Regions from separate parts of the Homo sapiens genome. Here region 1 is linked to region 2. The links are contacts of gene promoters, found by promoter capture Hi-C in blood cells and fetal thymus (Javierre and others, 2016). All regions are on one chromosome and are shown on one strand. Each heading gives the region's core, a stretch centred on a gene start or on the middle of the fragment in contact. The rest is flanking DNA. Distances are from core to core; before and after follow the strand shown. Region 1 has its middle 170 kb from the start of KCNG1. Region 2 holds the start of KCNG1 (potassium voltage-gated channel modifier subfamily G member 1).

What was found. Contacts are between HindIII fragments. The CHiCAGO score rates a contact against its expected background, and 5 or more counts as called.
Region 1: a fragment that was not itself captured here is called in contact with the fragment with the promoter of KCNG1 in region 2 in 1 of 17 cell types (endothelial precursors); the score reaches 5.3 in endothelial precursors.

The regions. Positions count from the first base shown.
Region 1 is chr20:51,190,324-51,195,508 of GRCh38, reverse strand. No RefSeq gene overlaps it. Among named protein-coding and RNA genes, the nearest start is that of KCNG1, 170 kb to the right of the region's middle. The HindIII fragment of the contact is 2,146 bases long and covers 1,288-3,433 here.
Region 2 is chr20:51,021,757-51,026,813 of GRCh38, reverse strand. It overlaps KCNG1 (potassium voltage-gated channel modifier subfamily G member 1), which reads left to right and starts at 3,707. Exons shown (of 3, transcript NM_002237.4): 1 at 3,707-3,944. RefSeq lists a silencer at 3,609-3,778. The HindIII fragment of the contact is 2,899 bases long and covers 2,971-5,057 here.

The DNA.
Region 1 (5,185 bases), core at 1,111-3,610, 170 kb before region 2:
CTTTGTAAACTACCCAGCCTCAGATATTGCTTCATAGCAATGCAAAACAGACGGAGGCAGTTCTTGCGATAACAGGGGTTCGACTGCTAGAACCCGTTTATGCCAAATGCAGCCCTGACTTAGAAGAGGAAGGCCTGGAAGTGGCCAGCGCCGTCAACACAGAGCCATTCCTCTCATCTCACCAGACCAACTAAGCGACAACCACGAAGTGTTCCCAGCTCTATGAAGGAGAGGAAGGGCACATGGCACGTTCCTGGATGTGCACACGGTACACTGGTTGCAGTCATTTAATTAAACAGTGCTACAAGGGGGCACTTTGTTTGACGGGGCAAGCTGTCCTAGGGGAAACATTTTTAAGAAAATGGCAGGAGGGCTTTTACTTTAAAAAGTCATCCTCCCTCTACTTCTACGTAAACATATATCCAAAAGAACTGAAAGTAGGGACTGGAACAGATATTTGTTCGCCCAGCACTTTGAAAGCCTGAAGTGGGCAGATTACTTGAGCCCAGGAGTTCGAGACCAGCCTAGACAACATGGTGAGACCCCATCTCTATAAAATTTATACAAAGTTAATACAAAAATTAGCCAGTGCGGTGATGCATGCACTTATAGTCCCAGCTATTCAGAGGCTTAGGTGGGAAGATCACCTGAGCCTGGGAGGTGGAGATTGCAGCGAACTGAGATCGCACCACTGCCCTCCAGCCTGAGCAATGATAGTAACAACCACCAAGTTAAGATGGTAAATTTGACGTTACATGTATTTTACTACATTAAAAAAATACAAATAAAAAACACACTTGCTAAGTAAAGAAGCCAGTCACAAAGACTACGATTCCATTTATGTGAGATGTCCAGATAGGCCAATCCATAGATACAGAAAGCGGATCGTGGTTGCCAAGGGTTGAGGGAGTTGGCACAACGGAGTGTGACTGCCAATGGGCACAGGGTTTCTTTCTTGGGATACCGAAAAATGTTCTGGAATTAATAGTGGCTATGTCTGCACTACTGTGAATGTACTAACAACTCCTGAATTCTATACTTTAAAGGAGGGAATCTTATGGCATGTGAATTCTATCTTAATATAATTGGCTATGAAAAGGAAAGTTGCTGTCGGGAAAAAAAAAAAAAATCATCCTCTCCTCTGCTCACTTTCCCCCCAGCGGTCCCTGAGCTCTTGAGGCTTGAGGCCTTTGCAAACGCCATTCTCTCTGCCTGGAACGCCTTTCACTCCCGGTCCACACCTACACCATGCGTGGTTCATACTTTCTCATCCTTCAAGCGTAAGCTTCATTTCCAGGAACCTCCCTGTCTCCGTGGGACCTGGAGTGCCTGGAACTCCCCTTCAAAGACTCACAGGCTCATATGTGTTCCCTCCTCCCAGCAGCAACACCAAGGCAACATCACGCTCCACAAATGAATGACTCCACCTCTCAGCAATTACGGGGCTGGAGGGCAAGTTACAGGATTCCCTGGCCTCGTTCTTCCTCACCTGTAAGATGGAGCTAACACTGCTTTTCTCATGGAAGTTTATGAGCGGTGGCCAGGCGTGGTGGCTCACTCCTGTAATCCCAGCACTTTGGGAGGCCAAGGTAGGTGGATCACTTGAGGTCAGGAGTTCGAGATCAGCCTGAACAACATGGTGAAACCCCATCTCTAATAAAAATACAAAAATTCACCGGGCATGATAGCCCATGCCTGTAATCCTAGTTACGTCAGGAGGCTAAGGCAGGAGAATCGCTTGTACCTGGGAAGCGGAGGTTTCAATGAGCCGAGATCATGCCACTGCACTCCTACCTGGGTGACAGAGTGAGACTCTGTCTCAAAAAAACAAAAAACAAAAACCGGTGGAGCCCTTCTCAAGTATCTGCAGTTGGTGACTTCATAAACAGCAGGAAAAGAGCCCCATTTGGTGATGAACCCGAGAGGAAATGAGCAACGTATAAGTCAGTCAAGGCTGAATTCCGGGGTCAAGTGGGGCTGGATGTGCGTTTTTAATTCAACTTGTCTTTCAAGGATTATCTATTGAGCAAACATTATGTGCCAGACACGGTCTCAGGTACTGGGGGCACAGTAGTGAACAAAACAGACAGGACAGATTGCACAGGGGTGCGGTGACGGGCGAGGGCAAGGGATGTTCATCCACTCAACAATACTGCTGAGCTCCCACTCGGTCGGGGCCCTGCTCTAGGCACTGGGGAGCTGGCAGTGGCCAAGAGAGGGAAGAGCTCCTGCCCTACAGAGCTGGCACCCAGTGGGAGGACAGATGACACAGCAGCAAGTCCACTTCAAATTGTGTCAAATTCCACGAAGCAAGTGAACAAAATGACAGTCAGAAAATAAACCGGAGCAGTGGAATAGCTTGCAAAGAAACAGCCTTTTGGAGGAGTCTCACTGAAGCTGAAGTAAGACCCGGGCATGTGAAGAGATGGGACAGAGAATTCCAGGACAAAGAAACAGCCAGTGCAGAGGTCCTGAGGCACGAACTGCTTACTTTGATGGGGGCAGGAGATGTTGTTGGAAAAGTGGGCAGAGTGCAGATGCCATCAGCCTGAAAAGACATGGTGAGGAGTTTGAGTTTTATCCCAAGAGCAATGGGAACACATTAAAAAAGTTAAAATGAAAAGAACTCAGGGTGTTCCGAGAACAACAAGATCTGCCTTCTCCGAGACAGCATATGTCTGGGGAAATGAAGTGAACTGAGGCCTGGTCATTTATATTTTATGCTTGCAGAACCAAAGACACTAGTGTTCTTTAGCAGCACGAGCAATGCCGGATTTCAACATTACTAAGCAGGATGAATAGGGGCAGGGAGAGACTGGAGTCAGGGAGGCTGGGGAGGCACTTCTATTAGATCAACTGAGAATTGATGGAGACCTGGATGAGCGGGGGTGGTGGGTCGGCTGGAGGGGAAGGGAGGGAGCAAAGCCTGGACTAAGGGATTAAAGAATTGGGAAGAACTGAAGATGGAAGCCAGGGACAGGTTTGGTCACCAGCAAACGAAAAAGCCCCAGATACCCCTGGCGTCCTGGGGAGGGTGTGTAGGACTGGACTCATCTGGAAAGAGAGACTCTCATGTCTCCTTTTACTATCAAAACACACGCACAGACCAAAATGCACAGATGCATGGGACATACTGGGCTGAAATAAAGATTCTGGGAATCTCTCAATTATTTAAAAGTATTTAAATTATTTAATTATTCCTTAGCAACAGGGGAAGCCTAGATGGAAATGTGTACTAACACACCGTGATATGTTATTTAAAATCCCAGGCAGTCCTTTCCTTTCCCTCTGTGACCAAATCAAGCAACGCCAGATGCTTTCTGTAGGTCATATCTTTTCATCTTCACAGTAACCAAAAATTAGGTCTTAGAGGCTATTTCTGCTCCTCTTCCTCTCCAGCCCAACTCTGCATTCTCACTTCCAGCTGAAAGCTTTGCCTGCCATTTAAAAAATCCTTGCCAGACCCATGTGAACCCTCAGCTACTATCCTACTTCTCTGATCCCATTGACAGATGAACACCTTATCACAGCGGACTCTATTTGCTGCCTCCTGGTCGCCTCCCCACATTGTGTCTTGGGCCCACTCCCATTGGGCATTCTTCCCCATTCACAAGGAGACAGCCTTAGTTAAGGTCACCAGTGACTTCTGTGTTGCCAATCCAATGGTTCCTTCTCAATGATAAGAGGGGGGTAGTCGATGGTTCAATTAACAGAGTTGTCCTGGGCCAGGTGTGGTGGCTCATGCCTATAGTCCCAGCATTTTGGGAGGCCAAGGTGGGAGGATCACTCAGGCCCAGGAGTTTGAGACCAGCCTGGGCAACATAACGAGACCCCACGTCTATTTAAAAAAAAAAAAAAGAGAGAGAGACAAAAGAGTTGTCCTGTGTGTTGAGCACATGAACAGTGACAGTTATGCCCATTTGACAAATGAGGAAACAGAGGTGACACAGAGATAAGAAGGCATTTGCCTGAGATTGGACGTCGAATGAGTTCTAGGCACCAAGGGAAGCAGGGAAGGGAGTGATACCCAATGCATGAGGTGCAGACCTGACCCCAAGGAAGTTTCCAGCAACCTTGCTGCAGGACAGGCAGGCCATAACCCCATACAGATTCCCCAGTAGTGTTCAAATCACACCACAGGCCCAACCCGTGCTATAGCAGAAAAAGCAAGGGGCAGAAGACTGTGGCTTAAGTCCCAGGACCACTCATGTCACTGCCTCTTGATGTGGGGACCCTGGGCAAGTCACCTGGCATCTGAGTCTCGGTTCTGGAATTTGCAAAATGAGATGTGACTTCTGGTCCTGCCTTCCTCACAAAGGGGCTGTGACAGTCCAGGGAGATGACGCGAGTGATGAGTGTTTGGCACACTAGGAAGTGGCGGAATATGACTATTTCCGCGCCGGCCCCATCTGCCGCTCTGCTCAGCACCCACAGCGGCAGATATGTAACATGACGTTTCCATGAATTCTTGCCATTAGGAATTCCCAACACCCACGCTTTTTCCCTTCTGAAAGTTCTGCTGCATAAAAGAGGCAGAGAACAAGCCACCCCCTCCTCCGCTTCTCTGGATAATTCTACACCACTCCCCCCTGCCCATCAAGTGTCTGTGGAATTCCAGCTTCAAGCCACCCCCTCCTCTGCTTCTCTGGATAATTCTACACCTCTCCTCCCCGCCCATCAATCATCTGTGGAATTCCAGCTTCTCAAACATACAAACAGTTCATACCAGAGATGACCAGTGGTTTGGAAAAGCCAGATCATTTGCCATTTCTCCTTTTTAAAAGGTCTTTGGGGACATGATTAACAAAAGCTAAGATGGGAGGAAAGGACAGAAATGAGAGCCTCAAGGTTTGTTTTTTTTTTTTTTAATGTTTTCAACGAGCTGTGACTTGAAACAAGAGGCCAGACCTGGGCAGCCAGCAAACTATGATGAATAATGCTGCCAATGAGAGTGCTTTTTTTGTTCATTAACATCCCGCTTGTGCCCTAAGACCAGGGAGTGATGTATGGCAATTGTATCAATGTTCCCCACAGGGCAGGACACCACGTGGTTTAGTAAGTGGCTAGAGTCATCCCACCCAAGCTGGCCATTTGCTCCTGTGTGCAGACTGCACCTCTGAACAGGCCTCAGTGCCTCTCAACAAACTCCATGACAAGAGCCGATATTAATGGATCACCTCCGAGG
Region 2 (5,057 bases), core at 2,458-4,957:
TAATTTTAAATTAATTTTTAAAAATTTTAACTCAGTAGGGACAAATAAAACAGGTCTGCGTGCCAGAGTCCACCTCCGGGCCCAGTTGTGGCTCTGATGTCTTCAAATCACCCAGCAACCACCTGGCACCTCGTAGCTGCCCAGCAAGCACTGACGGTTCCCATTTTCTCAGGAAGCTTCCATGGGTATCATCAACATCTCTTTCCACACAACAGCTTGGGGAAGGATGCTTTTCAAGAGGAAAATGAAGATATGAGGAGAAGAGTGAAAAATCTGGAAGGCTCTAAGGGAGGGAGGAACTGCAAAGAGGGAATTCCTTAAAAGGACTTAAAAGGATTTTATTGGACATTGTTTAGCACAGTCAGGGATAAGATCAGGCAGTAATTTAACTCCTGGGTACAGCAAGTGAGTGTGTATGTTGCGGGTAGGCAGGACCGGGTGGAAGTCATTGTTCTCACTGACGGTCTCCACACAGTGTACCAGGTCTTCTGTCTGCAGGTCACTATGAAATTTGACTCAGGTGCATAGTGTTCTAATAAGCCCAGCCCCATCTCTAGAGGTGGCCATTAGTTCCTATGGATCCTACATAAGAAGAAGCTGGCTTGAGTTTGTCCCGGGACCTCATGAGGGCTCCGAAGTCAGACCCAGCTGGGTAGGCGTTCAAGTCTTCAATATCAGTGGTTCTCAAAGTGGGATCCCCAGACCTGATGCATGAGCATCAGCAGGGAACTCCTCAGAAGGACCCTACGCCAGACCCACTGAATCAGCCACTCCAGGGTGGGGGCCAGCCGTCTGGGTTTTAATAAGCCCTCAGGGGGATTCAGATGCACAGTAAAGTCTGAGAGGCCCTGCTCTGCATCCTTACCCTGTGAGCATCAGTGAGGAGTCTGACTCTCTGACGCAGTCACATCTATTCCAGAAAACTGTCCTGAATTCCCCCAGGAATCATTTCCAGGAATCATTTAAGAAGCCTGCTCTGTATGTGCCTAGCAGAGTGGGAGCTGCTGGAGAGGGGAGAGACAGCACACAGTCCTTGCCCTGATGGAGCTTGGTCCCCAGTGGGGACACAGATAATACGCAAGTAAAAAAGATAGAAACATGGCCAGGTGCAGCGGCTCACATCTGTAATCCCAGCACTTTGGGAGGCCAAGGTGGGTGGATGTCTTAAGCCTAGGAGTTCCAGACCCGCCTGTCTCTGCAAAAAATATATTTTGTTTTAAATTAGTGGTGCATGGTGGTGTGTGGTAGTCCCAGCTACTCAGAAGTCTGAGGCAGGAGGATCCCTAGAGCCCAGGAGTTAGAGGTTACAGTGAGCTATGATTGCACCACTGCACTCCAGCGGGTGACAGAGTCAGACCCTGTCTCAAAAACAAGATAGAGAGCAATTTTCTGGCTGGGTGCAGTGGCTCACGCCTGTAATTCCAGCATTTTGGGAGGCTGAGGCTGGCGGATCACTTGAGGTTGCGAGTTCAAAACTAGCCTGGCTAACATGGTGAGACTCCGTCTCTACTAAAAATACAAAAATTAGCTGGGCATGGTGGCACACACCTGTAGTCCCAGCTACTCAGGAGGCTGAGGCAGGAGAATCGCTTGAACCCAGGGGGATGGAAGTTGCAGTGAGCTGAGATCACACCACTGCACTCCAGCCTGGGAGACACAGAGAGACTATGTCTCAAAAAAAAAAAAAAAAAAAAAAATTTCAGATGGGAAAGGAAGGCAGAAGCCTGATCCACCACAAGAGGAGTGTTTCTCAATATGTAATCCAGGGACCCTCTGACAACAAAAGCCCACCCCACCCCACTCAGGCCCCTCCCCCACACTGCTGGTTGGTCTCTTTGATGTTTCTCAGACATGCCTCCTTCTCTCCTGCTTGAAGGCCAGTGCCTTTGATGTTCTGTCCACCTAGAAAGCTCTCTTCCCATCTTGCCAGATGGGCTCCTTCTGGCTCAGGGCTCCATGTAACCATCACCTCCACAGGAGCCCTCCCCCATTATTCTATCTAAAGTGGCCTCTCTGGCTTCATTCTGCAATCACGTATTTCAGCAGTTTCCCAATTCTGCCAAGCCCCCAGTAGAAGGTGAGCTCTTGGAAACAGGTCCTTAGGCAGATCCTTGTCTGTCCAGGCCTCCACCTCACCAGTAAGCCAGTGTTTTTATTCTTGTTGTTTTAGAGGCTGGATCTCGCTCAGTCACGCAGGCTGGATTGCAGTGGTGCCATCATAGTGCACTATAACCTGGAACTCCTATGCTCCACCCGGCTGGGACTGCCGCGCAGGCTAGTGTGCCCTGCGCTCATTTCTTAGGGTTAACCCTAACCCACTTAATGAGCACCCACGACTCCCCAACCCGAGCCCCACTCAAGCAGAAGGCCTCAGGCTGGTCGGCAGCAGGGTTTCTTCATGTCCTTTCTTGGTTCTCTGATGATAGGCAAAGGCAGTAGAGACAGAAAGGAAAAGAGGAACGGAGTGCAAGAGACAGAAAGGAGAAGAGGAACGGAGTGCAAGAGACAGAAAGGAGAAGAGGAACGGAGTGCAAGGCAAGCCACCCTAAGAGGCCAGCCCTGCCAGCAGCACAGATCCCTCCAAACCAATAGGTCCCTCCAACTCAGTAGATTCCTCCAACCCAATAGATCCCTCCAACCCAACCTCCAGCATCTGTGCAGCATCCTACCAACTCCGAGGCTAGGCGGCCACACTGGGAGCAAGACCCCAGGACCTGGTCCAAGTGCCCTGCACCGGCCAGGGGAGTGGACGACGAAGTGCGGCTCTGCTAGCCCGGGAGGGCTCTGGGGCCTCGGCCCCGCGGGACTGGAAGGGAAAACACCTGGCACGGTACGTACTGGCCCTAGGAATTTGGCACAGCAAGATGCTGGCAGTCCCTGGGTGGCGGTGGCAGGAAGGGCCCAAGGGCAACATTGGTCTAGGAGGTCGAGAAAAGGCGCGCGATATATGGCCCCCAGGATGTGGAAGCTTGCTTGGAGCGTTCGGCTCCAGGGCAGCAGCGCGTGGAGGGCCTCAAGGATGCAGTATTTGCCCGGGGTAGGGGGGCGAGGGACCCAGAGGCAGCAGTGCACTTGGACTTCCAGGACTTCCAGGGAAAGGCAGGAGACATGGCGCATGTGGTTCCCAGGATGTGTAAGCGCGTGGAGCGCGGCCCCGGGGCAGCGGAGAGTGGGGTTTTAATATCTAGCACATGTAGACCCTGGGGCGGTGCTGCTAGGGGCGCGGACCCGGGACCACCGGAGCACTTGCACCGCGGGGAAAGCTGACAGGGCGCGCGACCCTAGGAGGCTGCCGCGCCGCCTGGTGCGTGAAGCTCCAGGGCAGCGGAGCGCGGGGACCTTGAAGGCTGTCGCGTGCAGGCGAAGGGGCCGCAGGGTGGTCGCTCCTGGGAGAGCAGACGGGGAAGAAGGCAACGGGAGGGAGGGCGTAGCGCGAGCAGTCCCGGACGCGGGCTCAGGAACTGGCCGCGAGGAGCGCAATCCAGCAGGCGCGCCAGGGCCCCCGGATCCAAGGTGCGGGGTCCCGATTGGGCGCCTGGACGCCCCGTGACGGTGGCGCCGCTGCCACTGTCCCGAAGCGAGGCGAGGCCAGGCGCTGCGCTTTCGGCTGCCCGCCCCTTCTCCCCGCCCCGCGCTCAGTCCCCTCCCTCCGTCCCGCCTCCTGCCTCGCTCCCTCCCTCGGCGGCTGCTGCGCCGCGCTCCCGGCGCACTCGGAGCCCGGCGGGGACCGGGAGGCAGAGACGGGGCGGCCGTGGCTCCGAGGGCGGGAGCTGAGCCGGGCCCCGGGACCGAAGTTTGGCGGCGGCTCCGGGAGGCAGAGCGGGCTCCCCGGGCGACTTCCAGGCCCCTCTCGCGTCCTCGCCCCGGACCCGTGGGCAGCCGGGGGGAACGGAAGCCGCGGCCGGGCCAACTCCGAGGCGGGGACGCCGCGACGGGAACTTGAGGTGGGAACTTTGCGCGCTGCAGCCTCGCCGGGCGCCACCGAAGCGCGAACCGGACCCCGAGCCTGCAAACTCGGGCTCGGGGGCGGCTGCACGTGGCCGTGGCCCTGAACTCCCTGCGGGGGCCTCGAAACCCGCCTGCGGGGAGGCCAGGGCGACAGAGGACTCGGGAGTCACCGCTGGTGCGTGGCGGCGTGGAGCGCGCTTGTTACGGCCAAGGTGCGGGTCCGGCTTCGGTTCATCCCAAGGGGTCACCGGGATGCGAAGTCCGGGACGTTCGCCGCCGCGGTGACCCCGGCGGGGGCGCATCCCGGCTGTGGGCCGAGGTTTCTCCCCCGATCCTGGGAGGAAGGAGAGTTAGGGATTGGGGTGGGGGAGTGTGTGTCACTTGCTCATTCACTGTATCCTTAGGCACAGTATGGAGCCCCCCTTCACCCCCACCGTGGGCCTGATTGAGTCATTCATTATGAACACAGCAAGCGTTTATTGAGCGCCTACTGTGTGCTAGGCACTGGGGATACTGAGACAGTTCACTGGGCACCCCCAGGAACTGGTAGGAAGGTGGTGGTCTCAGCCTTAGGGTTTCCATGTGGGAGAGAGGCTCAGCCCGGAGGTATGGAAGGAAAAGGGTGAAGTTCATTCATTCATTCATAGATTGGACAAAGATTGGTTGAGCACCTATTGTAAGCAGCTCATCATACCAAGCGCTCAACAGTCATTCATCCAGTTCACAAACATTTATGGAGGCGCTATGCTGGGGAGAAGTGAAGAGGGATGGAATGGGGGCACCCTTCATGCAGCTTAGAGAGAAGTAAGGATTAAGACCCAGGCCCCCGCTTGGGAGGCCGCAGACTGCCGGGGTGGCCAACTGTAGCAGCCCATGTATATAGGCAGAAGTCTTGGTTCATCTAATGCATTCCTTCTCAAGGTGGGAGGTGTGGAAGCTGGAATTGGTTCTAGAATAGGAAGAAAAGATCTTTTCAAAGCTCCTTAGGGGCGGGTGATGGGGTAGGGTGGGGAGGAGTTGAGAAACACTGATCCGACATTACTGAGGAATGCAGGTTCCCACCAATGGGGTTTATGAGTTAGGTTGTCCATTCAGCAGGCATTTTCTTA